2 separate regions of the Homo sapiens genome follow, and region 2 is linked to region 1. The links are contacts of gene promoters, found by promoter capture Hi-C in blood cells and fetal thymus (Javierre and others, 2016). All regions are on one chromosome and are shown on one strand. Each heading gives the region's core, a stretch centred on a gene start or on the middle of the fragment in contact. The rest is flanking DNA. Distances are from core to core; before and after follow the strand shown. Region 1 holds the start of ADAMTS18 (ADAM metallopeptidase with thrombospondin type 1 motif 18). Region 2 has its middle 32 kb from the start of LINC02131.

Evidence for each region. Contacts are between HindIII fragments. The CHiCAGO score rates a contact against its expected background, and 5 or more counts as called.
Region 2: a contact is called between a fragment that was not itself captured here and the fragment with the promoter of ADAMTS18 in region 1, in 1 of 17 cell types (endothelial precursors). The highest score is 5.6, in endothelial precursors.

The regions. Positions count from the first base shown.
Region 1 is chr16:77,433,106-77,437,812 of GRCh38, forward strand. ADAMTS18 (ADAM metallopeptidase with thrombospondin type 1 motif 18) reads right to left here and starts at 1,929. Exons shown (of 23, transcript NM_199355.4): 1 at 1,501-1,929; 2 at 1,313-1,400. The coding sequence starts at 1,590. RefSeq lists an enhancer at 1,625-2,125. The HindIII fragment of the contact is 7,514 bases long and covers 1-4,707 here.
Region 2 is chr16:77,556,680-77,561,386 of GRCh38, forward strand. No RefSeq gene overlaps it. Among named protein-coding and RNA genes, the nearest start is that of LINC02131, 32 kb to the right of the region's middle. The HindIII fragment of the contact is 1,031 bases long and covers 2,009-3,039 here.

The sequences.
Region 1 (4,707 bases), core at 679-3,178:
GATACATTGCTTTAAAGGGATGTGGCTCTTGATTATGTGCAATTTCTTAGAGAAAGTCTACCTTCTCCTTCTGTCAAACTAAAACTTAACTATGAAAAAGATTCCTGACATATGCAGGAAGTCTGTGTCTCACCTTCTTGTCCCAAATCATCTGAAACTCTGCCTGCTCTTACTTGGAAGGCTCTGTAGGAACGTTATCCAGCCAGCCTTCTATGGAACCAGCCATCAAACGGCCCCAGACACCTGCTACCAGCTTGTTTCCAAGGGGAGAATAACAGGCTGTCGGTTACATTCGGTTCTTGATGGAAGAAGGGCAGTCAGTGTCCCCTGTAAAGAGTGATCTCTGATTGACCACTTCAGGAGGTGAGTAAGGGTGAGGTCCTTACAAGGTTGTGGCTGGGTCGGACGTGGCCTCCAGCCATCTGATCCTGATATAAGAATGAGGGGTGGTTTTAGAAACTGCAGCCTCTCTGTTTGGACAAAAGGTGAATCCCTTCTCCATGACTCCATCCTGCCCCACTCCCCATTCCCCTGACAAGAAAAGGAGATAACCTTGCAAAACTAAAAATTACAGAATTCTAAAGAATCCAGGTTGAGCTGTAAGGTTTTCCTAGACACCTTGCGTCAGGAATCAGCTGTTCTCCTGTAGCTGATGGGAAACAATCAAAACAAGGATTTCCCTCTGGGCTCCACTGGGAAGTTAATAAATGTCAGAAGTGAGGGATTTTCTGGAAGTTTGTGGCTGGCGAACGTCAGAAAAGATAGATAAAGGACTCAGAGACCTGAAGTCACCTGCTTTCCTCTCTCTAAAAGCAGCCTTAGACATCCGTAAAACAAGGGAAGCAGAAATGAAAAAAAAAGAAGAGATAGAAAAGGAACAGAAGTCGAGAGAAAAATGAGGAAAGATGGAGAGAGGAAAGAGGCTCACATTCTTTCATCTCCCACTAAGAATTAGCTTCCCCCAACAAGAGTTAGGAGAGGGAGGAAATAAGTAATTCCTTAGTTAATGTCCACTTCCCTTCGAATTTCTCACTGCAGTTAGGATTTTTTTTTTTTTCTTGTTCTTCTTAACAAGCCACCTGTGAAGGAGGGAGAGTATTTGCTTTTATGTGACTTGCAGCTCGGGGCGTTGATTCTTTTGATAAGTTCAGTCCTTGCCAACCTTCCCCCCTCTCCAAACAGGAACCATTTCCAAGACAGCGCACACCTGCCAGGTTAGGGGGTGCGCTTTTCCATCTTTTCTCTCTTTGGGGGAAGGAAGGGTCAAAGTGCTGCGAAAGGCCCTTCTTGGGGATGGGGGGCAAATACGAACCATCATTTAATCCGCTGGCGCCGCTGCTGCTGTCACTGGCTAAGGCCGCGGCGACCGACGCACAGCAGAGGCAGCACAGCTGGAGCGCCTGCAAGAGAAAAGGTGACATCGCGCGTGAGGGGCGCGGCGGGGCTGGCGTCGGGCGCCCCCTGCCACCCGCTCTCGGAGCTCCGCTCGGCGGCACCTGCCTTGGCCACGCGCCCCAGTCCCGCCAGGCCCCTCGGCGGGCCCGAACCCGCAGCCGGGAAGGCACACGCGAGCAGGAGGGCGCACTCCATGGTCAGGTGCGGACGCGGCGGCTGCGGGTGGCCAGACGCGGCAGGCGGAGCGCACGGGCGGCGCGCATTCTTTCCGCGGCCCCGGAGCTCGGCGCCCCAGGTGCGGCTCCAGGTGAGAGCCGCCGCCGTTCACATCGCAGCGGGGGCGCGCTGGGACCTCCCCTCCTCCGGCCGCCTGCGCGCCCTCCCTTCTCCCGGCGCGGGCCTGCCGAGCTGCAGTTTGCGGCACCCCAGAGGGTACGGGGGGCTCCCTGGGCCGGGACTGGAGCGCAAACGGTTGGGAGACTGTCGGTGTCTGCCCGCCCGTCTGTGCGTCTGTCTGTGTCGGTGTGAGCGTCTGAGGCGATGGGGAAGACAGCGCCAGCTGGCTCCCCCAGCGCGCCGGAGCCGAGCGCCCGCCTCTCCACCGCGCGGTGATTGGCGACCAGCGGCTCCCGGGCTCGTCCGAGCCCCCGGGCTGGTGCAAGGGCGTGGGATTCCCGGCTCCAGCTCTGAGGGAGGGGGCGAAGGGGGCGGGGAGGCTGGGTGGGAGTGATAGGGAGGGAGGGACCGACCGCCATGAGAAGGAGGGGAGCGCCCAGGGTCAGGCTTGGAAAACGTAATTTAAGCGCACTGGGAGATGAGTTCGGAAGACGAAAGGCTCAGGTGAGTGGCGCGACTTTTTCGCTGCCTGTGCAGACTTCTCATTTTCAACTCTTCTGGCAAAGAGTCAAGATAGCGTCCTCAACACCTCCTAAGTGCTGGGAGCTATCCCCTGCTGTATCGCATTTGCCTCAGGCCCTACCTTTTTCAGGTGGGAATTATTAATTCCTTGATAAAGATGAGGAAAAGGAGGCTCAGATGCGCACAAGCTGACCTAGCTTCCCAGAGTCAGCAAATCTGAGGCAGCCGGGAGGACCAGAACAATGAGCTGTCACTGTCTGCAGCATGTAAAAACTCATGGCACGCGGGGGCCTCCCTCTTCTCCCGGATCTCTCTCTCTCTTCTTGACGTGACCGTGCTTCCCACTCTTCGAGATTGAATCTTGGCCCCAGATACCCAAACCCACAGAAATCAGTTATAACAAACAGCGCACGCCATCACTAGGAATGTGCATCCAGTTTGCTGTGTGCCTGTTCGTTTACTCAAGACATTTATTTGATCCTTTGATCCCTGTTTGCAGAGGTGAACAAAATACAGTCTCACGGGCCAGTGGAAACGAATCTGATTGGATAGCTCGACAACGGTAATAGAAGCAAAATGAACACAAATACTAAAAAGGAAAAGAATAGTCTCCTAAATTAGATGGCAGCAGAATCTAATTTAGATGGGATAAGATGTGTGTGTGTGTGTGTGTGTGTGTGTGTGTGTGTGGGTGTATATATACACACACACATATATATACACACACACACGCATACATACACGTGCAAGGCATCTGTTAGGAGCTGACACTTAAAATAAGGCCAGAGAGAGTGGATCGGTTTTATAAGGGAAGAGGGGAGTAGGATCTTGCATGTTAGGACAGGGGGCACAGCATAAGTGAAGGTCTCAAGGTAGTTAAGTGATTGCCACGTGAAAAGTGTTACAGGCCAGAGGAAGAAGCAAACACAGCAGTTGCTGGGTCAGCTGGACCTTGTAAGCTGGGGCGAAGCATGTTGGAAACCATTAGATTTAAATGAATGTGGGTTTGTGTATGTGTAGGAGGCAACATCATATCCAATAATAAAAAAATGTGAACCATTTTTTGAGCGAGTGTAGGGATTGGACGAGCTGAGGCAGGGTCAGAGAGAAACAAACCACGCAGCTGTTGCTGGCATGAAGGGGTACAATGACAGTGTCTTGCTTGGACCAGGGTAGTGGTAGTGGAAGTAGATGTATTACTCTGCTCAGTCCTGTGGGTACTGAAGTAGTTAACATGAGGTCTATGTCAAGCCTCGATTAAGTGATAGCTCAATACACATAGTCGGTTTTATGGAATGCAGCTGGGAAGAGGTAAACCCAGGCTGTAGCGGCAGAGAAGGTGATGTGTCTGCCTAAGGAACATGAAGCTAAGCCTCACAGAACATCAGGGCTAAACAAATCATTTGGGTTTCCCTACTTAATCTGGTTAAGCTCTGTGGCCTCTGTTTTATAATCTGTAAAATAGGAATCAACATGCTACATCAAAAGGATAGCCTGAGGGGTAAGTGAATATATTTTTCAAAGCACATTATAAGTGGACTTTAAGAAGTGATGGTGTATTTCTGTTATTTCATACATCCTGTGTCAAACTTGAATATACGTCAAAATCACCTGTAATGCTAGCTTAAAAATGCAGATTTCCAGGCCATGAAGCACTGTGATTCTGATTCCATGGATTTGGTGTAGGGCCCAAGCATGCATTTGTAGTAAGCACTTGTGGGTGATTCAGACACAAGTGACTTAAGTGCTTCATATGATTCCATGAAGAACTGGACACAAGAGGAAACTGGACATCAAAGACATGCAGTAAAACACTGCTGGAGGTCACATCACCAAGCAACGGACTGAATAAAACAGGAGACTGGGATTGACAGCACTGTCAGCGACATCATCAGGTGAACACTGACGGAACCTGGAGGGTGAAGGGCTTGTCCACACTCAGCTAAAAATAACCATGGCCCTGATTTGTGTCTCTCCATTAAGATACATTTGCATGAAATTGTCCATATTTTTCTGATCCTCCTCTTTTAGGGCTAACAATATAGGTTACTTGCCATGGTCAGGGCTGAAGTCTCGGAGAACAACCCTTAACTATGCTCTATGCTCAATTGTGGAATTTCTCAATCTCAGCAGTACTGAGATTTGGGCTGGATAATCATTTGTGGTAGGGGCTATCATCCTGTACATTATAAACATAGGATGTTTAGCAGCATTTCTGGCCTCTACTTCACTAAATGCCAGTAGCAGCCCCCAAAATGCAACAAAATGTTGTGAGATTTCCAAATGTTTCCTGGTGGGTAAAATTCCCCTAGGTGAGAACCTGGATAAATAGTACAGATTCCCAGTCCTATTCTGTGACATTTTTTTGTTGAGTGCCCATTTTTTTTTGAGAGTCTAGAGGGCTCCTCTTGAACCTAATGTAAGTAGTTTATCCTTAACTGATTTTACAGCTCT
Region 2 (4,707 bases), core at 1,274-3,773, 120 kb after region 1:
TAACAGGAAAACTAGTTAAGTCTGAAATTTAGTTAACAGTACGGTACCAATGCCAGTTTCTTCATTTTGACAAATGTACCACTGTGAGTGTTTTAGTTTGCAGGAACTGATAGACACATTCAATGTTAGCTATGGGGGGAACAATGTGGAGTGTAAGGACACTCTCTGGCATCTTTGTAACTCTTCTGTAAATCTAAAACCATTCCAATAAAAAGTGTATTTTTAAAGTGGGCAAAGAATAGAAACAGACATTTCTCAAAAGACAACATACAAGCAGCCAACAAACATATGAAAAACTGTTCAACATCAGTCATCATCAGATAAATGCACACTAAAACCACAATGAGAAACCATCTCACCTCAGTCAAAATGGTGAATATAAAAAGTCAAAAAAACAACAGATGTTGGTAAGGATGCCGAGGAGTAATTACCAAAAATAGGGAAGTAGGAGGAATTGCTGGTTTGGAGAATACGTCTTGAATCGGTTACTGGACAAGGGAAGGAGTGAAATCTGCGACCTGGTTTGCTTCTGCCAGCTGCAGCCATTCCTTCAAGAAATATTTTATCAAGAGCCTCTTTTAGAAATTGGGAGACAAAGTCTTTGCTCTTTTGGAGCATAGACTCATGTAGGGAATCAAACATTATGCAAATAAATGAATATCTACTATAATGCCGGGCTGTTTCTAGAAAGAAAAAGAATAAATGTTGAATTGCAGAAGAGCAAGTTGGTAGCCATGCAGAGAGATTTGCTGTCACAATGAACTTTTTCCTTTTGATTCAGGTCATCAAACTTTGCAAAATATAGGAGAAAGAAAATCTAATTACTTTGAAGATGCTCTGTGAATTAACTAGGGAGGGTTTGGACCATGAGAGGTTCATCTTCTGATGAGCAAGAACCATGGAGAGCAGCCTGGATGGCCGACTGGACAAAGAAAGACCCAGATTAGAGTCTCAGCAACTGTGCTGTGTGACCCTGTGCAAGTTACTAAACTTCTCTGAGCCACAAGGGCTTTATCTGTAGAAAAGATATATTAATACTTCTTTGAAAGTTTGTGCTGGAGATTGGAATACGTCAACAAACTGTTAGCACAGGTCTTCATGTAGGTCATCATACAAATGTTCAAAAAAGGTAGAAATTTTTCTCCTGGGTAATGCATCTGAAAATTCAGACAGCATTGTCTACTCTTTCTCCTGACAATCTAGGTTGAATTGCATGGATGGAGATGATTCACATCAATATTGTCATCCCAAAGAAGCTATTTCTTCTTGCTATCTCATCCCATAAAAAGCCCTGATTCCTGTCTTTGCTACTGTCTGATTGTCCCATTCTTCCTTCGATCCTACAAGCAAGACTACATGTTTCTACTAAATTTCTTTTTGCTAATTACTCAGAGAAGTAGCTTGCATCTAAAAATCTTTAACAGATTCAGTTAATATTGTTAACATTATGAGCAGTGTTTGTATCCCTAATTGCTATTATTAACATTATTATGTATTCTTTTTATACTTAGTGGTAGTAGTGTTAACATCTTTCTTAGTGCTGTGAAAGTCTTAACTGGGCCCTAAGTTTGGGGTTGATAGAGAATGGGATTGGGGCAGGCATGGTGGCTCACGTGTGTAATCCCAGTACTTTGGGAGGCCAAGGCAGGCGAATCACTTGAGGTCAGGAGTTCAAGATCAGCCTTACACAGCAAATCCCCATCTCTACTAAAAATACAAAAATTAGCTGGGTGAGGTGATGCACGCCTGTAGTTCCAGCTATCTGGGAGAGTGAGCCATAAGAATCACTTGAACCCAGGAGGGGGAGGTTGCAGTGAGCCGAGATCATGCCACTGCACTCCAGCCTGGGCAACAAAGCAAGATTCTGTCTCAGAAAGATAATGGGATTGTACATGTATTAATAGATACTAGATTTTCTCACAAATTCTTGATAGTTGAGAAAATACCATATGCTTTGTGTGAAATGCACAAGACACTTCACCAAGATCTTGGCCTAGAGAAGGAGAGAAGCTTCAACTATTTTCTTAGCATGAACAACAGTTGCTGAGGTATTTCTGGACTTTGGATGCCCATCTTAGAAGGATATAAACGGGAACTCAAACCCCAGAGATGCAAGGGTGCTAAGCCTGGAAGGGGCTGTGGAGATCAATTAAATATCCCGTTTTCTGAAACAGGAGTTGCCACAGTCTCCACTCCATGCCAACATTTGATTACATTGCATCCTACTGCTGTGCAAAGTTTCTTGGAAGTTATTATAGTAGAATAAACACAAACATACATGGATTTTTGTGGTCTCTTGTTTATCCTTAAGAAATTTCCTTCTTAAAAACAGCTGGCTTGGGTCCCATCTCCTGTTGTTCAGAGTTGACTCCAATACATTTTACAGATGGGAACACTGAGGCCCAGATAGTGGAGATTTTTGACCAGGCTCACATAGTGAGCAAGTGTCAGGGACAACCCTGGAATCACGTCTCCCTCCTACTTTCTCAACACAGAGAAAGTAGAAAGAAAAGAAAAAGTTATGGTGGCTTTGGTTTTCTTTTGTTTTAAATGCAGTGTTATTTTTCCCCCACGGATATACTCTTGGGGTTTTTTGTTGTTGTTATTGTTGTTGTTCTTTTGGAGATGGAGTCTTGCTCTGTCGTCCAGGCTGGAGTGCACTGGTGCAATCTCAGATCACTGCAACCTCCACCTCCCAGGTTCAAATGATTCTCCTGCCTCAGCCTCCTGCGTAGCTGAGATTATAGGTGCACACCACCACGCCTCGCTAATTTTTAAAATATTTTTAGTAGAGACAGAGTTTCACCACATTGGCCAGGATGGTCTCTAACTCCTTACCTCAGGCGATCTGCGTGCCTCAGCCTCGCAAAGTGCTGGGATTACAGATGTGAGCCACCGCACTCAGCTTATTCTTGGGTTTTGGGATCTGCAATTCTGAGAAGGTAGATTCATACTGTGAGTTTTGTTTTTCTCCAGAATGTGGCTCTCTCCAATCAAATCCCCACCCATGAATGAGGAAGGCATGGATGGGACAGCCCAAGCTTAATGCAAACTGAAACTACCTCCTGTTTATCTAGCCCTGATGGTTTGTTAGGCATATTTGAAGATTCTGTCACTTATAAAAGTCGTGAAATGAATTTTGGTAGTAGAAATCTACATATTTTTCTTTTAATTGTTAAATATTGAGAATAACTCCTGGTAGCACACTGATCTATTTCCTTTATGCTTTTTTATATTTTTATTTTCCTCACACCCCACCCCACCATGATAAAGAGTCTTGCCCTGTAGCCCAGGCTGAAGTGCAGTGGTGCAATCCCGGCTCACTGCAACCTCTACCTCCCAGGTTCAAGCAATTCTCCTGCCTAGGCCTCCTAAGTAGCTGGGATTACAGGGGCGTGCGCCACCACACTCCGCTGATTTTGTATGTTTTAGTAGAGATGGGTTTTTGCCATGTTGGCCAGGCTGGTCTCCAACTCCTGACCCCAGGTGATCCGCATGCCTTGGCCTCCCAAAGTGCTGGGATTACAGGCATGAGCCACCGCACCCGACCCTTTATGCTTTATTATGTGCATTTGAAATCACTTTCATTGTATGCAAACATTTTCTCTTAAATTTTGCATTTAATAATTCCTAAGAACTTAGTAATGTTGTTATGAACTCTTCATATATGTCACTCAGGAGAGCTATGTAATTTTTGTCCACCAACAATCATTTAACTATCCCCTTGTTTTGGGTAATTTGGAACGTTTTCCCATGTTTTGCTGGTTAATAATAATATATCAATATGAGCATCTTTTTTGGTAACCCTTTAGCTAGCAGATGGATGAGATGGCATATCAGACTCCCCATTATGTTTGAATGTGACTAGTTTATTCTTGTCAGGCTTTAGGGAATTTCATTGAAGGAAAAAATCTTTGTCAATATTATAAAACATATAGCTTACTTATGTTTACTTATGAAGTTGAATTTGGGTCCACGTTTTTCAACCAGTTATATTTCTTCTTTGGTGAAATACCTTTATATTCCTTATGCCCTTCCATTTTCCAAGGTCCTTCTTTAATCCTCCTTCTCCTATTAGGGATTTAACATTGTTTACTCCACATAAAGTAATCCCTCTCCTTTCCTACAGCCTTGAATTCTGTGAAGATCAAAGACACATGGCAATGATTTATGTATGGCTATACTAAAGCACTTGGGTATGAAAATTCTCTCTCCAGCTAGAGAGGAAGCACCATGCTTTTCTCCTCATACACCGTACAGGTTCCATCATTGTTGAAGGGACAGGAGGAGAGATGGACAGGCCCAGTTCCCTCTGTCATCTCACCATAACGTGGTTGGGAATCACAGCAGAAAACAGTGACAGGAGACCTTGGCCTTTCATCTGAGTACCTGCTCCCCACTCTATAATTCTGCCTCAATTGACTCAGCTCCTTGTTTTCTCTCTACCTCACAAGCCATCATGGCACCTACACCATTTCTCTACAAACTATAGACAGGACAAAGCCAACCTTTGCACAGTACAGCGAAGGCTTTGTGGAGGTAGGATTAAGTCATTGATAAAAATCTAAGATGTACTTTTTAGATTAGCTAACTTTTAAATGATGCCAGATTTCCAACATAAAGGGCTATCCCGTGGTAAACCGCAGTTAAGAAAATATCACACTTAAAACAAAGCCGGAAGCTCATAAACTGATAACTCCAGCTGCC